Linked DNA regions of Homo sapiens: all the other regions are linked to region 7. The links are contacts of gene promoters, found by promoter capture Hi-C in blood cells and fetal thymus (Javierre and others, 2016). All regions are on one chromosome and are shown on one strand. Each heading gives the region's core, a stretch centred on a gene start or on the middle of the fragment in contact. The rest is flanking DNA. Distances are from core to core; before and after follow the strand shown. Region 1 holds the start of KCTD14 (potassium channel tetramerization domain containing 14). Region 2 overlaps MYO7A (myosin VIIA). Region 3 holds the start of OMP (olfactory marker protein). Region 4 overlaps MYO7A (myosin VIIA). Region 5 overlaps MYO7A (myosin VIIA). Region 6 overlaps MYO7A (myosin VIIA). Region 7 holds the start of AQP11 (aquaporin 11).

The links. The method cuts DNA at HindIII sites, captures the fragments that hold promoters and counts their contacts. A CHiCAGO score of 5 or more calls a contact.
Region 1: a contact is called between the fragment with the promoter of KCTD14 here and the fragment with the promoter of AQP11 in region 7, in 1 of 17 cell types (non-activated CD4 T cells). The highest score is 5.0, in non-activated CD4 T cells.
Region 2: a fragment that was not itself captured here is called in contact with the fragment with the promoter of AQP11 in region 7 in 1 of 17 cell types (neutrophils); the score reaches 6.5 in neutrophils.
Region 3: the fragment with the promoter of OMP here is called in contact with the fragment with the promoter of AQP11 in region 7 in 1 of 17 cell types (neutrophils); the score reaches 5.8 in neutrophils.
Region 4: a fragment that was not itself captured here is called in contact with the fragment with the promoter of AQP11 in region 7 in 2 of 17 cell types (M0 macrophages and endothelial precursors); the score reaches 6.4 in M0 macrophages.
Region 5: a contact is called between a fragment that was not itself captured here and the fragment with the promoter of AQP11 in region 7, in 1 of 17 cell types (M1 macrophages). The highest score is 5.4, in M1 macrophages.
Region 6: a fragment that was not itself captured here is called in contact with the fragment with the promoter of AQP11 in region 7 in 1 of 17 cell types (M2 macrophages); the score reaches 5.6 in M2 macrophages.

What each region holds. Positions count from the first base shown.
Region 1 is chr11:78,022,022-78,024,721 of GRCh38, reverse strand. It overlaps KCTD14 (potassium channel tetramerization domain containing 14), which reads left to right and starts at 1,446. Exons shown (of 2, transcript NM_023930.4): 1 at 1,446-1,562. The coding sequence starts at 1,473. The region is part of intron 2 of NDUFC2-KCTD14 (NDUFC2-KCTD14 readthrough); the gene reads left to right. It overlaps LOC124902723 (a long non-coding RNA gene), which reads right to left and starts at 2,179. Exons shown (of 2, transcript XR_007062795.1): 1 at 1,701-2,179; 2 at 1,000-1,188. RefSeq lists enhancers at 952-1,519, 1,520-2,089, 2,090-2,657. The HindIII fragment of the contact is 5,224 bases long and covers 1-2,700 here.
Region 2 is chr11:77,178,287-77,180,986 of GRCh38, reverse strand. MYO7A (myosin VIIA) reads right to left here. Exons shown (of 49, transcript NM_000260.4): 20 at 1,858-1,942; 21 at 1,034-1,252; 22 at 506-613. Among named protein-coding and RNA genes, the nearest start is that of MYO7A, 51 kb to the right of the region's middle. The HindIII fragment of the contact is 1,681 bases long and covers 565-2,245 here.
Region 3 is chr11:77,101,405-77,104,104 of GRCh38, reverse strand. OMP (olfactory marker protein) reads right to left here and starts at 1,265. Exons shown (of 1, transcript NM_006189.1): 1 at 774-1,265. The coding sequence starts at 1,265. The coding sequence ends at 774. The region is part of intron 3 of CAPN5 (calpain 5); the gene reads right to left. The HindIII fragment of the contact is 17,255 bases long and covers 1-2,700 here.
Region 4 is chr11:77,139,296-77,141,995 of GRCh38, reverse strand. All of the region lies in intron 2 of MYO7A (myosin VIIA), which reads right to left. Among named protein-coding and RNA genes, the nearest start is that of MYO7A, 12 kb to the right of the region's middle. RefSeq lists an enhancer at 1,420-1,986. The HindIII fragment of the contact is 1,906 bases long and covers 433-2,338 here.
Region 5 is chr11:77,200,295-77,203,027 of GRCh38, reverse strand. MYO7A (myosin VIIA) reads right to left here. Exons shown (of 49, transcript NM_000260.4): 36 at 1,390-1,580; 37 at 604-728. Among named protein-coding and RNA genes, the nearest start is that of MYO7A, 73 kb to the right of the region's middle. The HindIII fragment of the contact is 2,420 bases long and covers 266-2,685 here.
Region 6 is chr11:77,160,625-77,163,324 of GRCh38, reverse strand. It overlaps MYO7A (myosin VIIA), which reads right to left. Exons shown (of 49, transcript NM_000260.4): 12 at 2,210-2,352; 13 at 995-1,205; 14 at 337-472. Among named protein-coding and RNA genes, the nearest start is that of MYO7A, 34 kb to the right of the region's middle. The HindIII fragment of the contact is 5,899 bases long and covers 1-2,700 here.
Region 7 is chr11:77,588,532-77,591,257 of GRCh38, reverse strand. It overlaps AQP11 (aquaporin 11), which reads right to left and starts at 1,305. Exons shown (of 3, transcript NM_173039.3): 1 at 647-1,305. The coding sequence starts at 1,265. RefSeq lists a silencer at 1,329-1,958. The HindIII fragment of the contact is 3,851 bases long and covers 698-2,726 here.

The DNA.
Region 1 (2,700 bases), core at 197-2,696, 430 kb before region 7:
CACCTGCCATGGCCTCCCAAAGTGCTGAGATTACAGGCGTGAGCAACCGTGTCCAACCCTATTCCGTTAGTTCTGTCCCTCTGTAGAACCCTGACTAATAGAGTCATTTCTGGTAAATGCTAATGTTAGACAGAAACGAAACTTAACATTAGCCAACCACAAGCAGCCAACTAACATACAATTAAGTAGCTGTGGACTTTTCAACAAAGGAAACCAAAAAAGGAGATTTTTTAACTGTAACCAATTTTATATATATATATGTATATATATATATATGTGTGTGTGTGTGTGTGTGTGTGTGTGTGTGTGTATATATATATATATTTTTTTTTTTTTTTTTTGAGAGGGAATCTTTGTTGCCCAGGCTGGAGTTCAGTGGTGCAATCTTAGCTCACTACAATCTCTGCCTCCCGGGTTCCAGCGATTCTCCTGCCTCAGCGTCCACAGTATCTGGGATTACAGGCACATGCCATCACACCCAGCTAATTTTTGTATTTTCAGTAGAGACGGGGTTTCACCATTTTGGTCAGGCTGGTCTCGAACTTCTGACCTCAAATGATCTGTCCGCTTTGGCCTCCCAAAGTGCTAGGATTACAGGCGTGAGCCACCATGCCTGTCCCCAACAAAATATCTTGCTTCCATATTCTCCCCATAAATATTTGCCTCTGATGCATTGTCATGGGAACACTCAACCTCTTTCCATCTGGTGTTCCCCGATTCAAGAATTGCCTGTTACTCAAGTATACTCTTAAAAAAGTTTTGTTGATCCTCAGACTTTACATTTTAACACCACCCTACCTCCTAGAGCGCCAGTTTTCTGATCTGTAAAATGGGTGTTGCGGATCTTTCACTCCCTAGGACTGTAGGGAATAGAAAGTCTCTGGTTGTCAATGTCAGTCAATGTCAATTCCTTCTGCCTCCCCCATTTCACTACTGGGAACTCCGAGGCCCAGAGAGGGGCATTAACTAATGTCAACTTTAATAACGGGATTCAAGCAATATGTTTAAGTAATTTATTTAAGCGTAAAAGAAAATATAGGAAGAGGCAAGTTGCCGTGGCTCAGGCCTGTAATCCCACCACTTTGGGAGGCTGAGGTGGGAGGATCACTTGAGCCCAGGAGGTTGAGGTTGCAGTGAGCCTGATCCGCCACTGCACTTCAGCCTGAGCGATAGAGTGAGACCCTGTCTCTGAAAAAAAAAAAAGAAAGAAAGAAAGAAAAGGAAGGAAATTAATCTATATCAAAAGGTCAGTCCTTAAGGGGTCTGCTCCATTTCTCGGTCTCCAAAGTCAGCCCTTCTCAGGGCCTAACAACTTTTAGAAGCCCCAAATAGACAGACTGTCCATTTCTTTCTGCACTTGGCCCAGTCTCACTGCAAGCCACGCCTGGCTCAGCCCCGTCCCGCCTTGAGCCTCGGTGTTCCCACCTAGGGGCGGGCAGCCAGGGGCACTTCCGCTGGCCCAAGTGATCTGCATGTGGCAGGGCTGCGCAGTGGAGCGGCCAGTGGGCAGGATGACGAGCCAGACCCCTCTGCCCCAGTCCCCCCGGCCCAGGCGGCCAACGGTAAGTGCGAGGCTAGCTGCGTCCCCGCGCCTCTGTCCTCCGCCTCTTCCCTCCGCCTCTTCCCTCCCTTCCAGTTTCTCCTGCCCGTCCCTCCCAGACGCCCGAGCCCCCTGCTTCTGGCGCGCTGTCCCCCTTCACCTCGGGCTGGTCGCTCTCTTCAATCTTTGCCGTCCCTCCTGCTGGGATCACTCTCCTTTCGCGCCTCGGTGTCCCTTTCTGGTTTGGCTCTGTCCAGCCTTTCCTCTTTGCCCTTTTGCTTCCTCCCTCTACATTGGGTCTTTAGTTCCTTTCCCTTGTCTCTTCCCCACCGGCTTGTCCTAGCCCACGACTCCTCCTCTGCCCCACCTTCTCCCTTGCTCCCGGTGGGAGAAGCCCATCCAACCAGCTCGGCCAGAGGATCTTTCCCTCACCTGCAGCCCTCTCCAGCCTGCCCCTGCCCCTTGGCTGGGTCTTCAGCCTGCCCCTGCCCTCTGGCTGGGTCCCAAATCCCTCTGCTTGCCTGCCTGGTCCCCAGCTTGGGTGAGGGGAGTTGGGGAGGAGGATGGGGAAAAGGCTGCGTGCACTCTGGGAGCAGAACATTCGGGTTCTCTCCTGCACTGAGAGTCATCCTGAAGACCTGGAGGAAGAGAAAGCAGATCCAGCAGCAGGGCAGCGTGGCTCTCTCTAATAGGGCCATGATCACGTCATTGTTGTTGGCTATTGACAAAGCCACATGCCTAGTGCCAGGACCACCCTAGGTGTTCCATAAATGCCTGAATGAATTACTGGGGAAGTGTAAGGCACTGTGCATGATGCCAGGTAGGGCAAGATTGGCCTTGAACAGAATACTAGATGCTCCTGTAAATCAGAGGATATTCCCCTCCCTTAGGAGCCTCACAGAGTTTTTGTTTGTTTGTTTGTTTGTTAAAATAGAGATGGGGTCTCGCCATGTTGGTGAGACCCAGGCTGGTCTCAAACTCTTAGGCTCAGGCAATCCTCCTACCTCAGCCTCCCAAAGTGCTGGGATTACAGGCATGAAACACAGCACTTGGCCAGGAACCTCACAGTCAATGAAGAAACAGGGAATTGCAAGGGAAGAACTGCCAGGCCAGTGGAAGTATAGTAGTGTAGGACTTTCTGGGATCACAGTGAGACAACC
Region 2 (2,700 bases), core at 156-2,655, 410 kb after region 7:
TATATTTAACTCAATATTTCCCAAATATTAACTTAGCATGTAATCCATATTATAAAAATAATACTGAGATATTTTATATTCATTTTTCCCCCACCAAATCTTCAAAATCTAGTATTTCACACTTAAAGCACTGTGTCATTCGGACAGGCCACACTGCAAGTGTTCAGTTGCCACTGTGGCTGGTGGCTCTCTATTGGGCAGTGTAGCACCCTCGTGCCGTCAGCTGGCTTGTGCTTTTACCAGGGTGTTATCTCAACAACTAGAAAGGGGCTGCTGAGGGCCTGGGCCTCTTCCTCTGGAGCCACCACAGCCCTTCATCCTTTTGCATGGCACAGGACCAGGTGCCCAGCGAGAGCTCAGGCAATGCTGGCTGAGTGGGTCTAGTGTGGCCATTCTGAAGGATGGAAGGAAGGCTGCAGCACCGGGTGACAGATGAGAAGCCAGCCTCGGGGAGGGGACAAGCCAGCAAGTGGACACCTAAGGTGCCTGGAGGCTCTCAGCTCACCTGATGCTTGCGCTCGGCCTCCTCCTTGGCCTTCTTGGCGCTCATCTCCTTCCGAAGCTTCTCTTCCTCCGCCAGCCGCATTTTCTCAGCCTCGAGGCGCCACAGATACTGAGGGAAGGGGGCATCCAGAGGGCATGGAAATGTGTGTAGCTGTTGTTGCAGGGATTCCCACCAGCTCCACCCACCCAACTCTGAGTTCTGGAACTGGGCATGACTTTGATAGGACAAGTGAGGTAATCAAGAAATTCTCTAGGTCACCCAGCGGGCTGGAGGCACCACTGATCCTAAAGCCCGGCCAGATCTGCGTCGGTCTCCCAGAGATTCCCAAGAGTGACTGAGGTCCCAGCCCTGCCCTTGGCTGAGAGGATGGAAATGAGGGTCTGGTCCCAGGTATGTGCACTCCTCAGAGCAGGCATAACTGCAGGTCCCCCCTATAGGTCCCACTTCCTGGCCAACACCTGAGGGTGATGCATGGACACTCCTCGCCCAGGGGTCAGAGCTGTGGGTGCTATGGACTTGCTCCCTCACCTCAGCCCTGAGGCGTTGGTGCAGCCTGCGGGCGATCATGCCCCGGGCATAGGCCTGCACGGTGAGCACAGCCCAGAGGCGGTGGCGGAAGGCCTTGCGCACCAGATAGGCGCGGCAGCGGGCCTGGAACTGGATGATGCGCTGGCGGGCCAGGCGGTACTGCTGGTGCAGCTTCCGGGAGCGGTGCAGGGCCTGCAGCCGCAGGAAGCCCAGACGCATCTGCAAGGACAGCCACCCCATGCTCAGAGCCTGCTGTCCCATTCCAGACTGACCCTGCCTGCAGGAGCTTCCATGGCACCGGCCTCCACTCTCAGACAGGCACCCCCAGAAGGCGTGGCCCAGTCTCCTCTCAGATTAGTGCCCCCCCATCGTTAGAAAGTTCTGTTTCCTCTCAGGCAACATATTTTTAGGTGACCTTGACTCTCCCTGAGTTGGGGCCCCCAAGAGAATCCTAGATCAGGAGCTGCAACCAACCAGTCTGCTTCCCATCCAGCCCCAACAAGTCCTAAGCCCAGCTGCTGCACAGAGGTCCATGTGACCCAGCCACTCTCACCCTGTCTGAGATCTCTAATAATCCCAGAGTGCTCCCAACCCCCAAAAACACTCCAGAAGGAGAGCAACAAACATTGCTGGCCAGTTGGAAGAAGCCACAAGAGCCAGATCCAGACTTCGGTCTGGAGGAATGGTAGTGGCTGGCCAGGGCAGTGGCAGGAGGCCAACGAGGCCAGGCTGTGCTGCCTGGGTGCAGGCCAGTCCCACTGCCATGGCAGCAAGGCTGGGTTCAAAGGCCTGTTTGGGCAAGAGCAGCCCATGGGGAGGCTCACCAGCCCGTAGTTCTTCCTACAGTTGTGACCCCGCCAGTGCCTCTGGATCAGTGTGGCAGCGTTCTTCAGCTTCAGAAAGTTAGACCTGAAACAGCAGTAGTGGCGCGGGTGAGCAGTGTCCAGAGGCAGCCAGGGTACAGGTGGGTTTGGGATCAGGAGGGCACGCTGAGTCCCAGCTCTGTGACTTCCTAGCTATATGACCTTGGGCAAGGCACATAACTTCTGTGCCTCAGCTTCCTCATCCGTACAATGTGTAGAATAATGCCTGCCCTGCCTGCCCCACAGGCCTGTCACATAAGCCCATGAAGGTAGACATTCAAAAGGTATTTGTTGAATGAATAAATGTATGAAAAAATAAGTAATTAAAATAATATAAAGATCAAAAGCTTTGAACAGTCTAACTTCCTCAGTTTATACATGAGGCAACTGAGACTTGATAGGTTGGGACTAGAGCCCATGTCTTCTGACTGACCCTAAGTGAGCCCAGTGCTGTTCCCCCTGCACACAGCAGGCTGCTTCTATAGGAGAACAGTCATCTTCAGCCTGATAGAGGACAGAGACCATGCACAGACAGCAGGGGTCTGCTGAATGTAGAAATAAATAAAGGAAGAGCGAAGGATGGGTGTGCAAGTATGCAAGTGAGCCAATAAGTCAATGCTTGGAGACACACATAAGCAAATGAGCAACTGTGGGAGTGGGTGGGTGAATGGATGAATGGAGGAATGAATGGGTAGGTGGATGGGTGGGTGGACTGATGAGTGAATGGATGGGTGGGTGGGTGGATGGATGGATGGTGGATGGGTTGGTGGGTGAATTGATGGATGAATGTGTGGGTGGATAGGT
Region 3 (2,700 bases), core at 16-2,515, 490 kb after region 7:
AATCTAAAACTGCACTTGTTCCTAGGGTAGGAATAGACCTCTAGAATACATCCATATGAATACAGCACACTCTGTCTCATGGATATGTGTGCGTAGAGACAGATCTCTGTGTAACCTCCCCCTTCACTTCTCCACCCTGAAGTCAGGCCCAGAAGAGCCACAGCTGGGCCTACACAGCCTCCAGGGTGCCAGCCACTCTCCACTGCCCAAATCCACCCCTGCAGCAACCCTGCCCCATATCCTGAGGGTTGTCGACGTGTTATGGGACCAGCAGCCCAGACACAGGCTCCGGCAAAGGGCACCAAGGCCAGGGAGCAGTGAATGCCGGCTTGCTGGACTCCCCGTGGAGACGCCCCATCATCTCTGTCTCCCTGACTCTGGAGGAAGTGGATGCTGGGTTTTTCAATCTCTGTCTCTGTGTCTCTCTTGGTCTTTCTCAGTCTCTCTCTCCCACAATGAAGCAGAGAGAAGGCAGATGGCCCTGGCCTCACTGTCCATGCACACTGGCCCCTAGTAGGCCTCTATCGTCTATAGCAATGCAGCAGCCAGTCCAGCTTCTAGGCTATGGAGCCTCAGAATCTTCTTCCTGTGAGCTGGAGTGCTGGCCCCAGGGAGAAGCAGAGGAGGAAAGGTGTGGGACTCAGGGGGCCTCTGGGCAAGCAGAGGACAGGCTGAGCAGCGAGAATAATGGCCCCAAAAATACAGGGGGGAAAGTGGCAGGGGCAGGGGAGAGCACAGGTGGGCTAGAGGAGAGCAGCAGCTGGCAGCTGCTGTCAGAGCTGGTTAAAAACCACGGAGGCCTTGAGGTTGGCGGGCTCCACACCCTCGCCAAAGGTGACGAGGAAGTACATGACCTTGCGGATCTTGGCCAGGTCCGACAGGCGCTCCCCAAACTCCAGGGCGTCGGCCTCATTCCAATCTATGGCATCCGAGTCCTCCTTGCGCCAGAAGATGGCAGTGGGGTCCAGCAGCTGGCGTGTCATGAGGTTGGTGAGGTCAGGCGTCCAGTTCTGCGAGGTGCCTGTGATGGTGACCTTGCCCGGCTTGTCCAGCACGACATTCCAGCGCTCGAACTGTAGCCGCTGCTGCTGGGTGAAGTTGAGGCGGTACACAGACTCCGCTGGCTGCAGCAGCTTCTCCCCATCCTGGCGCTTCTCCCCGCGCTGCTTCAGGCTCTCCACGCGTAGCCGCATCTGCCTGGTCAGGCCCTGGTCCAGGACCAGCGGCATGTCCAGCTGCGGCTGCTGCGGCCTGTCCTCCGCCATGGCCCAAGTGCTGCTGCCACCAACGCCAAGGACCCAAGTGGGCTGGAGCCTGGGGCCGTGGAGAGAAGAGGCCACCAAAGGGGGGCCCCACCTACTTTCTGCCCTTCCCTCTTCCCCTCCCTTTGCCACTGGCTCTTCCCAGCCCCACTCAGTTCTCAAAATGGGGTGTGTGTCAGGGGTGGGAGTCCCCATCTGCCTCCACTCCAGTCCCCGCAGAAGCGATAATGCAGGCCCTGCAGGCAGGCGGAAGGTGGCAGGTTCCTTGGGGACCAGGTCGCTGATGTCAATTGCTGTGGCAACCGCCCTGACTACCAGGGCTGGGCTGGGTGCTGGCTTGTTTGTGAAGATGAGAGCACTTCGTAAGTGCACTGATGGGGAGGGTGGTGGGGACCACTCCTCACTGGAGGTACACAGGAGAAGATGCAAGACCCGCAGGAGCAGGTGGAGAAGGCAGGACCAGAGAGGGCTTGGTGATTGGAGATCTGAAGTCACCTAAGTTAAACCTTGGAGCTACCCCTGACGCCCGCCTCCCTCTCACTCCTCCACACCCAATCACCAAAGCCTGTCGATTCTGCTTCCCAAACACCCCGGGACCCTTCCCCTCCAGTCCCATTGACAGGATCTCAGCCCAGCTACCGTATCTCTCACCCAGACCCGTGGTTCTCAAGACTTGAGTGAGCATCAGACTCACTCTCAGGACTTAACACACAGATTGCTGGACCCCCTCCCAGAACTCCTGGTTTATCAGGGCTCTGTGGGCCTGAGAATCTGCATTCCTAACCACCTCCCAGGTGACATGCTGCTGGGCCAGGGACTGTGCCTTGAGCATTACTGACCCGGATGACACTGATGGCTGGCTGTGCCGCAGCCCTGCACCATGGCCACAACAGGACAAGGCTTCACTTCTACCCAAATCCCACCACTTACTCCACCTGAATTAATCCTCAGTTTCCCCCAGGGGCCGAGGAAGAATCTGGCAAATGTTTATATCCCCAGGGCCCGGGGCGGAACCAGAAGCTCAGCCTTTATACTGGGGAAATGAAAGAACTGGAGTGTGAGTGGAGCCGGAGTTGGGGAGAGAGTGGGGATGGGAGTTGGGGAGCGGCCGTCGCCACAACACGCCACACACAGAAAAGAGGACAGAGTCAAGGCCAAGGTATCACAACGGAAAACAATCTGAAGGGTCTAGTGGACCACAAGCACGGTCAATTGTGAGATGGTGGCTAATCAATCAGTGGGATCCTGGGCTACCTGAACAGCAGAGGGGCACCAAGGGAGACAGAATACCCGGTCCTGTTAAAACCACACTGCAAGCCCTGGGGTCAGTTCTGGGGGTCATTGGCAGAAATTCCCCCAAGGGTATTTGAGAGAACCATACAGCTAGATGTCAAACTGCCTGATCCTCACAGAACCTTTTGCTTTGTAGCTGGAGGGG
Region 4 (2,700 bases), core at 136-2,635, 450 kb after region 7:
CCTACTGAGTGCAAAGCACTGATTAATCTAAATGCTGGGGGTTGAGCAGTGATTATGGAGTCTACGTTCTAGTTAGAGGTGGTGACAAAAAACTGAGCAAATAGATCAGCACGATCACTTTGGATACTGGTGAGTGCTGTCAAGGAAACAAACAAGCCAATGGTGGAGAATGACAGAGCCAACCAACCTAGACCCAGTAGCCAATGGAGCCGCTCCATGGAGGGAATCGCTGAGCTGACACCTGAAGGGTGACAAGCAGTCAGCCAAGGGAAAAGCAGGGGACAGTAATCCCAGCATAGGAAACAGCACATGCAAAGGCCCTGCGGCAGAAAGGAACAGCCAGGAGGTAGGACCTGATGGGCGAGAGGGAGCTCAGAGAAGTAGGCAGGGTCCAGGACACATAGGCCCTTTGCTGGCCTTGGGATACAAGCTTAGATTTTATTCTAATCCTAATAAAAGTATTCTTTTTTGGGTGGTACTCCAACTCCCTAGGAGTTGGGACATTCTAATAAGAATATAACTTAATATCAAGTAAAAAAAAATGTAACAACTTATAAAACTGATTCACAATGAAGTAAACCGTGGTAATGGTCTGACAGAATCTGTTCTGGGCTAGGAGTCAGAAGACTGGGTTTCAGGCCCTACCCGGCCTTGGGTGAGTCGCTGACCTCTCTGAGCCTCAATTTCCACATTTCTCAGTGAAGGCTGAACTCAGTGAGTCCAAGACCAACTCATTACTGTTTCAGCCTCCTCTTGTTCCCATCAGAACCAGCTACAGTCATGCATTGTTAATGTCAGAGATAAGTTCTATGCAAACATATGAAGTCATCGAGTGTACTTCACAAACCTAGATGGTACAGCCCACTACACACCTAGGCTGGATGGGGTAGCCTCTTGCTCCTACACTACAAACCTGTACAACCTGCTACTGTACTGAATACTATAGGCAGTCATAATCCATAGTGTGTATTTGTGTATGTAAACATATCTAAACATACACATAAAAGGTACAGTAAAATATGGCATTATAGTCTTATGGGACCACTGCCATCTATGTGCTATTTTCCAGCCACAGCTGCCCCTGTGGACCCTCTCTTCATGTGAATGGGAGGTTGGCACATGATAGAGTCAGGCTAGTCCCAAACCCAAACTTCCTCCCAGAAAAAGTAAGAAAAATTGGAGAGGCTTGGGCGTGGAAGAGAACTGTTTACTGAGCATTCACTGTGGGCCTGGGCTCCACAGGCTGCATCCCGTAAACTGCCCCATATAATCCTCACAGCTGCTTGTGTCCAAGCCCCAGCTGCACTCCCTGACCCTGGGCTTACCCCTGACAGCCACCCCACACAGGGTCTGCTCCCCTTCCCCACTGGCCTGGAGCTCCCTAGGGTGGGGCTGGGTCTGAGTCCCTCATCTGTGGCTCCCCAGAGCCCAGCCCAGAGCGGGCCTCGGTGAGAGAGAAGGGGTGGGGAGCGTGTTCGCTTGTGGGCAACAGCATGTGGCCAGGGGACTGTCTCCAATTTCTCTCCTCAAAGAGGTCAAGAAACGTGCCCAAGGTCACACAGCTGTTTTGTGGCAGAGCCAGGACTGAAGCCCAGGTCTGACAAACCCCAAATCCAGGGCTCTTTCCTGACATTCCCTGGGCCCAGTCCCACATGCAGCTCACTGAGCAAAACAGGAAACACTGATAGAGTCCTCCCCCGCCCAGATGGCTCAAGGGCCCTGAAGGCAAGCTGGAGACTTAGGCTGAGGGCAGCTGGAAGGCAGGGGTCTCTCTGAGTCACCTGTATCCCTCAACCCAGCACAGGGCCTGGCACACAGAAAATGTTTGTTTCCCCTGGGAGAAGATAAAATAACCAAAATAAAAAAAACTTCATGTGAGCAGGAAATGGAGATTCCGAGAGGCTGAGTGAAGCTCTTGGGGCCACACAGCAAACAGACATGACTACAACTCTTCTTACTTAGGGCTGTCACAGAGGGCAGTGACCAAACTATCTTGCTCTAGGCCAGACTTGAGGAAACAGTTTCAGATGGCAGGGGAGAGGCTTCAGGGAGAATTCTGGGGTCTTAGGACTTCTGAAGGGGAATATTCCTGTGGCCCTAGGGAAAGTTCTTGAAGCATCGCAAGGCAGGCAGGTTGTAAGGATCCTCATTTTACAGCCGAGGAAACTGAGGGCCAAAGAGAGAAAGGAACCTGGCCACAGTCACTCATCAAATCAGTGACTGACAGGACTATTAGCATCTGGAGGACAGAGCCAGGACCAAAATCAGGGTGGATCAGGAGTCACTGGCTCAGAGGGAGAAGGAAGGGAGGAAGGAAGCCATGAAAGAAGATGAAGCTTCATTGAGAGGCAGGAGGGAGGTGAGAATGGGGAACCAGGCTCCAGGTAGGACCCCACCACCCCCTCCCATCCCCATGGCTAGCCCCAGGCACCCCACCACTGCATCTGGCCCCATTCCTACACCATGTTCCGTGACAACTTTACACACTGTATGGGGCGCCTTGCTTGGTACTCACCTTGAATGGAAGATCTCGTTTGTGACACGACACATGCCTCAGTGTGGCTGTGTAACGTGGGGCAAGTCCCAGCTTTTCTCCTATCAAATATATGACCAGGGCAGAGGGTTTCCCAGGCCCTGCCAGCTATGCAGGCTCCCAGCCCGAGTCGTGCCTTCCTAGAATGGGTCTGTTCGAATGTTCTC
Region 5 (2,733 bases), core at 226-2,725, 390 kb after region 7:
CATCGCTGGCAGCCCCGGGGAGAAACCCCCAGGTTGTGAGACCCCCACCCCCACCCATCCCTGTGTCCAGAGGCTGAGAGTGGGCACCAGGCCCTGCTCTTCCCTGCCCTGCATGTGACCCGAGGCGAGTCACTGGCAGTCACTGGGCCTTTCTTTCTCAGCTGTGAAACCCCAGCGGCGAGAACACCACGGGCTGTGCCCCAGCCTCCCCCACCACCCTGCGCCCCCTGTAGAGCTCAGTGCACAACGCCTCCATCAGGAAGCTTCTCACTGCCCCCCACCCCCCGCCCCAGAAGCATCCTCATCACAGTGCTGGGCACGCCGAATCCCAGCTGCCTGCTTCCAGCCCGCATCCCCACCAGGACTCAGTCTCGAATGCCCAGCCTGGGGTGGGTGCAGTGACATCTCTTGAAGGAAGGAAGATAAGATGAGACACATAGGACGGGTCATCCTGGCAGACAGAAACAGCCCTCCAGCTCCCTCTGACCCAGGCCCTGCTCACAGGTGGGGGCTTCACAAAGCAGCCCCAGCACACGACCAGACAGTAGCGGAAGCCTGCAGCTCCTAGCCCTGTGGCTCCCATCCTTCCCCAGGAGGCATCACCTGAAGTAGTCATAGGAAAACTCCTCCAGCGTGTAGGGCTTGGCACGCACCTCGGGCTCCGCCGTTCGCAGCTGCAAGAGCCGGACAACGTCCTGCCTCTGATCGGGAGTCATGGTGACCAGGGCCTAGGGACCAAGAGACAGGGGGCTCAGGTCAGCTCTCTACCTGTGGCCACCAGGATCAACATGGTATACCCTGAAGCCTTCTGGACTCTGGGAGACTCTTCAGGGGTATGGACCCCATGCCCCATTCTGACCCTGGGAGCCCCGTTCCTCCTTGGGGTCTCTGAGGTCCCTGCTGCCTCCTTTGTGCTGAGCTCAGGGCCCTTCCCCAGGTGTCTGATCAGGTTGGGTCAGTCAGAAAGCCTGGACAAGGCAGCGGGACATGGTATGAGAGCTGCCTCGTCCACTGAGCCTGGCTCAGGAGCCACTAGGGAAGCTGGGCTGTGAGTCCTCAGAGCTGCTCTCAAGGGGGCTCCAGAAGAAGCAGGGCCCCCTTCCCAGCTGTGCCCCCACTGCCTGTTCAGACAGTGCGGGTGATACACCTCTCTCCAATCCCCACCCCCGGCCCCACCCCTTGGCAGTTCCTCATCTGATGCCATTTCTAGGCCCCTCCCCACCTGGCACAGGTTTGAGCACTGCCCCAACTTTAAATGTGTGTCCCATAAGATCCCAAGATCATCTTCACAGATGCACTAGACCGTTAACCTATTGTACAGCTGTGGGAAGTGGACAAAGAGGGGTCTAATGGCACCTCCCACCCATCTGCCACCCCCAGGCCACATACCACAATCTCCCGCGGTGGCATGGTGACAGTGGGCATGACGTACACACTGTCGGTGGGGAAGTCCCCACGCTGCTTGGTCCTCTCATTGATGCCGTTGGCCCAGCCCGAGTTCATGACCTGCTCGCCCGTGTCATGGTCCAGGATGATGAGGTCTCCCTTGGCAAAGCTGAGGAAGCCTGACTCCTCGCCTGCTGTAGAGCAGAGGTGAGTGGGACCATGGGGGCAGAGACAGGCTGAGTTGGAACATCTTCCCACAGAAGAACTGAGGTGTTATCACTCATGTCTGCCCACTTGCCACTCTGCCTCCACCTTGTCACAACTCTCCATACAGAGACCATCACCAGAGTGGGCTACTCTCCTGCTCAAAAGCCTTCCACGGCTCCTCATTGCCCTTGGGAGGAAGCCCCACACTCCTGGGCCTGTTGTGAGCGGGCCTCCCAGACTCCTTCCACCTCGCCTCTCCTCCCTCACTGTGCCTGTTCCCAGCCAAACCAAGCTGTTCGCAGTTCCCTGGACAGGCCAGCTTTCTCCCGCCTCTGTGCTGGCATCACGCTTAGCTCTCTGCCCCCTGTGCTCTGGTCACACGGGCTTCCTCCCTGGACCCCAGTCGGCATGGGGCCTCTCCTCTGGGCTCCTGTGGCTCTGGGCTTCCCTGCTCACTGCACTGTCACAGGCCTGTCACTGTCTTCTTCCCACCCCCCTCCCCACTGAGGACAGGGTGGGGTCCATTTCATCTTTGTCTTTCCCACACTTGGCCAGGGCCTCGGTAGCCTCAGGCAGAGTAGTTGTTACTGCTGTTATCACTTGAAGATGGTGGGTCTTTTGGGAACACTGAGGAGGACCCTGATCTAACTTGGAGAGCTGACAGGAGATGAGTATTGAAGAGCCAGAAGAAGGGAGGGAGAAGAGGTTCCCCACAGGCTACAGATTAAAGGCACAGGCTTCTGCTATTTGGTCTAGCTTCAGGGGAAAGATGGGAACAAGATCCTAGCAGCCTTGAGTGCCAAGGCCAAGGCCACGGGGCATGGTCTGTGATATGGTTTAGATATTTGTCCCCTCCAAATCTCTCTGTTGAAACTTGATCTCCCAGTGTTGGCAGTGGCCTAGTGTGAGGTGTTTGGGTCATGGGAGTGGGTCCCTCATGAACAGTGTGGTGCCGTGCTCACGGTAATGAGTGAGTTCTCACTCTATATAGTCTCTGTGAGAACTGATTGTTTAAAAAGAGCCTGGCACCCCCTGCTCTCTTCCTTCCTTCTGATGCAGGCACCCCTTCTCCTTCTGCCATGAGTGGAAGCTTCCTGGGGCCTTCATCAGAAGCAGATGCTGGTGCCATCTTTTTTCTCT
Region 6 (2,700 bases), core at 10-2,509, 430 kb after region 7:
CCTAGAATAGTCAAACTCACAGACAGAAAGTAGAACACAGGTTACAGGGGGCCGGGGGTAGGGGAAGGAGTTACTGCCCCATGCTTGCAGAGCCTCTGTTTGGGGCGGTGAGAAAGCCCTGGAAATAGATAGCAGTACTGGATGCACAGCACTGTGAAGTACTTAGTGCCACTGAATCCAACACTTGGCCATTTTAGTCAAGTTCATATATATATATATATGAATAATCACAATTTTTAAAAATCTTTAAAATTCCGGATATCTTATTCCTGGGCTGGAGCAGGGGAAGGCAGGGCCACGGGCAGGGAGTGACAGACAGCCGGCAGCCCTCTGTACCTTGGGTCTCATAGTAGACGATGCCTGCAAAATGGTTGATGCCAAACTGGGTCTCATGGTTGTTCTTGGGGGGGATGTAGTTGGCGTTGAGCTTGTGCTGGGAGTTCAGCTTGTGTAACATGGTGGTGTCTGTGCCCTGGGGAGTGGAGGGGCAGCTGTGAGCCCACCCTCTCCTCCATGGGCCCCACTCCCCTCCCTGCCCATGTCTTTGCCCCCTGTCTCTTCTTCAGGAGCTTCCCCTCCTTTTATTTCTACCTCACATAGGCGCTCTCTGGAACCCCATTTCCCCATCTGTTAAGTGGATGAATTGGAACTACACAACTTTGAAAGTGCATTCCAGTTTAGACAATCGATTTCCCAAGATTAAAATCATGGGTGCAATCCCCTCTCCCCCTCCCCAACTCTGAGATATACACTGTGTCCTGAGTACCCATTCCATGCCAACTGCATGCATGGATCTTCATGGCCTGGCCCAGAACCCCATGGACTGTAGGTGATTCCCAAATGGCAGATGCCTATACTTGAATTGGCCCCTGAGCCAACTTGAGAGGTGGGTATCATTAGTCCTATTTTGCAGATGAGGAAAGCCGGGGCTCAAAGCAGGGAAGGAAGCTGTGCGCACCCAAGACCCTGGGAGGCGGCAGCAGGACCGGCCCACCTTGGGGAACTTGCTCTCCTCATCGATGAGGGAGATGATGTTCATGGGCTTGTTGGCAATCATGTCCAGGGCATCCTGGTTGTCAGTGAACTCGATGTGCAGCCAGTCAATGCTCTCCAGGTCATATTCCTCCTGCTCCAGCTTGAACACGTGCCGCACAAAGAACTGCTGCAGGTGCTCATTGGCGAAGTTGATGCAGAGCTGCTCAAAGCTGCAGGGGCACAGGGATGGGGTAAGGGTGTTGTTCAGGCCCCACCATGCTGTTCAGGGCCTGGCTCTGCCTCCACCTGCAGCATGGCCATTAGCAAGCTATCCCCATCATGGACTCCAAACTCAGAGGCGAGGGGAATTGTCAAGTCCACCTCCCTCCAGGTGCAGAGGAGGACACGGAGGCCCAGCAAGGGCAAAGGACTTGCCTAGGGTCACTCTGTGAGCCAGAAGGAGAGCTAAGGCTTTTCAGGACTCTTTCCCTGGCATGATCAAGCCCTGGGGAGGGCTGGGGATTGGCAGGTGGGCACCCAAACCCCAGGCAGATGCCTGGGAGAGAAAGACCCCAGAGGCTGGCTGGTGGGCCATACAGGGACATCAAAAGTGGCCTTGGGAGGTGGGAAGGGGGTTGACAAGACTTGGGAAACAGAGCCCTGGCTGCAGACATGGCCGAGCCACGGACACAGCCCAGTATGTTGAGTGTGGGTGTTTTGGTGCTGGAGGGCTTTGAGACATCCAAACAGCAAGGGAACTGATATGACTTGCCAGGTCCTGACTTTCCAGCAGGAAGTGGGGCTCCAGGACCCGCCTGTATGTGACACCACCCATCAGTCCCTCACACGGCCCCTAAAAGGCACAGAATCCCAAGGGTGGCGGAGACCCCAACACAAGCGTGGCACAGGCCTGGCCTCCCTGCTTTGAGGCGCCTTGCAGCATGGATCTGGGCAGATCGGCAGTGGCCAGTGGGTCCTGGAGACCAGAGGTTTCCTCCCCAAGTGTTCAGGATGCGTACAGCCTCCTGACAACCCCAGCCAGGCTCAGCTGACCTTGAGGAGGTGAGGGACACGAGGGGATGGGAAGGAAAGGGAGAGGGTCCACCGTGATGACGGAACAGCCTGGCAGAGTGTGCCAGGAGCCAACTAAATGTGCTTCGCAAGGGAGAGACGTGATATTTCTTATTTCCATATTGGGGAAGGAAATTCCCATGAGCAGAGCCCCACGCGGTACCTGTTCACAGCAAAGTTCTCAAACCCAAAGATGTCCAGGAGGCCGATGGACCTGCGAGAGTTCTTCACATCCTGGGAGGGAGGCTTGTAAATTGCTGCGTTGATCTTGTCCACAATCCACACGAACAGCCGCCCGTAGATCCCCTGAAAGGCAGTGATCAGCCACTGGCACCAGCCACACCCTCCCCCGGGGGACAGGCCAGGCTCCTGGACCCTTCGTGGTGTCGCTCCAGCCCTTGTGTGGAACAAAGTGCCGTGTGAAACCCCCAACCCTTTACTTGAGCTGTTCCCTCTGCCTGGAGACCCCTTTTCCTGCTTGAACAGTTCCTACACATTTTTCAAGGCTCTGTTGAGATAACAGCTCCTCTTGGAGAAGCCTTCCCTGACCATGCAGCAGGGGAAGGAGCCCTCCTTGGGGCTCTCATCTCTATGTCCAACCCTGTTTATCTCTGAGGTCCCCGAACCCAGCCCAGGGCCTGGTGTGGTGGGTGA
Region 7 (2,726 bases), core at 56-2,555:
TATATTTTAAAAAGCATCTTTAATTTGAAGCAAGTTATCATTTAAACATTTTTCTTAATAGGTCACTTAAAAGTTCATGTATAACTCAAAATGAATTATTAAGGAAATAAGAAATTTCATAACTCAAAATGAATTATTAAGGAAATAAGAAATGACTTTAAATCATTTATAGGACTAAAATGGAACTACAAAATTTCTACCCTCCGCTCTTATACTAACCAATCATGTGCCTTGTGCTTTAAATCGAAAGGAACTTTGTAAAGCCAGGATCATTTTTCAGTAAGAGTATCCGAAACGATCTATACCACCTTGGCATGAAGAAAGAGGCAGTTAATAAGTTATCTTTCCTTTCTACCATTAAAACAATCCCTTTGTAGGATATCTGAACCCTTGGCAATATCTCACAGTATCTCAGTTTCAGCACAGAGGTGGCTCCTTTCTCTGGGTGTTCAAAGCAGCACTGCATGAAGGCTCTACGTGTCGGCCCTACTGGTTAAGAACGGGCTGCAAAATGGTTAGAATAACGGGGATACCAGCATTTACATCATAGCGGGATAGACGGTTTCAAATGTATTTTAGTAAAGAACTTACAGCCTCATGTCATAGAGGCTCTGGAAGTGCCAAGTATTTGGTGAGAATGACAAACCTGCATAGACCAAAAAGGTGATGAGTGCAGCCAGCAGGTGGATACGAAGCTTGGTTCGGACTTCCTGGAAGTGCAGCAGAGCGCTGTGGAAGAGAAAGGAGCAGACGGCCTCTGTGATGACCGCTTTGAGCAAGTCGACTCGGATGGGATTCTTGCAAGCGAAGCTCCTCTCGCTGACGTGATACTGGGTCAGACCCAAGCTCCACAAGGCGCTTGTGCAGTACCTGCTGCACAGGGCACTAACCAGCTGAGCCAATAGCCTCACCGCACCCGTCTCGGGGGACATGCCCCCCAGCATCATCTGCATCATCACGCCGCACGGGTTGCTGGACGTGCCCACCAGAGTCAGGCCATGCACAAGCGAGAAGAAGTAGACGAGCGTCAGCGTCCAGGTGGGGTGCGCGGGGTGCTGTTCGCTCAGCAGTTGCAGCTCGTGGGTGCAGCAGCAGAGCTGGAAGGTGGCTAGAAACTCCAGGACGAAGGCGTGGGCCACCGGCCTGTGCAGCTGCTGCCGGGCGACTACGCGGGCCAGCCCCATGAGCAGCACCACCGACAGCATCAGTCCCAGCGAGGTGCAGGTGTCCTGCAGCTCGGACCGGAGCCCCAGCAGCGGCGACATGGCTCCGTCGCCGCCTGAGCGGGTTGCGGGCTCCGGCTCTGGGTAGGAGGCGGTCTCCAGGCCCGAGTCCGAAGTCCGCAGCCCCTCCCCTCCTCACGCCCCTCGGGGCGGGACGAGCGGGAGGCTCCCGAGCGGCACACTTAAGAAGTCCTCCCCGCCTCCCCGGCTTGGCGCTGGGGTGTTGGAACCAGAGCCGAGGAGGCGGGGAGGCGGGGAGGCGGGGAGGCGCGGGGAGGCGCGGGGAGGCGAAGGGAGGTAGCCTAGGGCGCCGGCCGCAGGGCCAACGGTCAGCCGAGCCCACCGCGCACTCACCCTCCGCAGTCTCCCTCAGGGCCTTGTAGGCGGGCGCGGCGGCGGAGGGCCGGCGCGGCGCGGTCGACGCAGCGCTCTTGGTGCCCACTGCGCACGCGTGCTGCGGCCCTTGCGCCCCTGCGGGCGGTGACACCCGGACCACGGGGCGGAGAGGAGCGGCACGGCGCGGCGGAGCTCTGATGGTTGCTTTGCAGCGAGGACCTTAGAGTTTTTCTTTCCCCGCTCCACACTGTAAAACCGTGGAGCTGGAAAGACCGCTGAAGGCCATCTCACATAGCCACCTCGTTTTTATCAATGGGCGACTGAAATTGAGAGGGGAGACGCGGCGCAGGGGGCGGGTGAGTTAGTGGGCGTAGACCGGTGCGCAGGGCCTCCTGGAGCCTTGCTTTTCTTCACCTGCCAAAAAACATTTCTAAAAATGGTGGTAATATATGCCAGATAAAATTCGCCACTTTAATCAATTTAAGTGTATATTTCAGTGGCATCGATTACCCTCACAGTGTTGTTCAACAGTCACCTCTTTTTTCCAGAACTTGAGCGGTGATTCTTCAAAGTGTAGCCTAGTTTTAGCATGTGACTGTCTATAACCTTTGGCATGAACTCTTTACGTATAATATGAAACAGTTGTGTCTTACTGTTACATGCACTCTTCGTGAAGAGGAAACAACAGGTAACTGGAGAGGTCTGTTTCCAAGAACTGGGGGTCCTGGCGCACCTCTTCCATCTGCTTTGAAAGCAGGAATACGGCTGCGTGAGGTGGAGCGCGTCCGGAGTCCCAGCACGGAGAGGCTTAGGTGGGAAGACCGCTTGACCCCAGGAGTTCCAGGCTGCAGTGAGCTGAGATCGCGCCACTGCACCCCTGCCTGGGCCACAGAGCGAGACGCTGTTTTTAGAAACAAAAACAACAACAAAAACCGGGCGCGGCTGGGCGCGGTGGCTCACGCCTATAATCCCAGCACTTTGGGAGGCCGAGGCGGGCGGATCACCGGAGGTCGGGAGTTCGAGACTAGCCTGACCAACATGAGAAACCCCCGTCTCTACTAAAAATACAAAATTAGCCGGGCATGGTGGCGCATGCCTGTCATCCCAGCTACTCGGGAGGATGATGCAGGAGAATCGCTTGAACCCGGGAGGCAGAGGTTGTGGTGA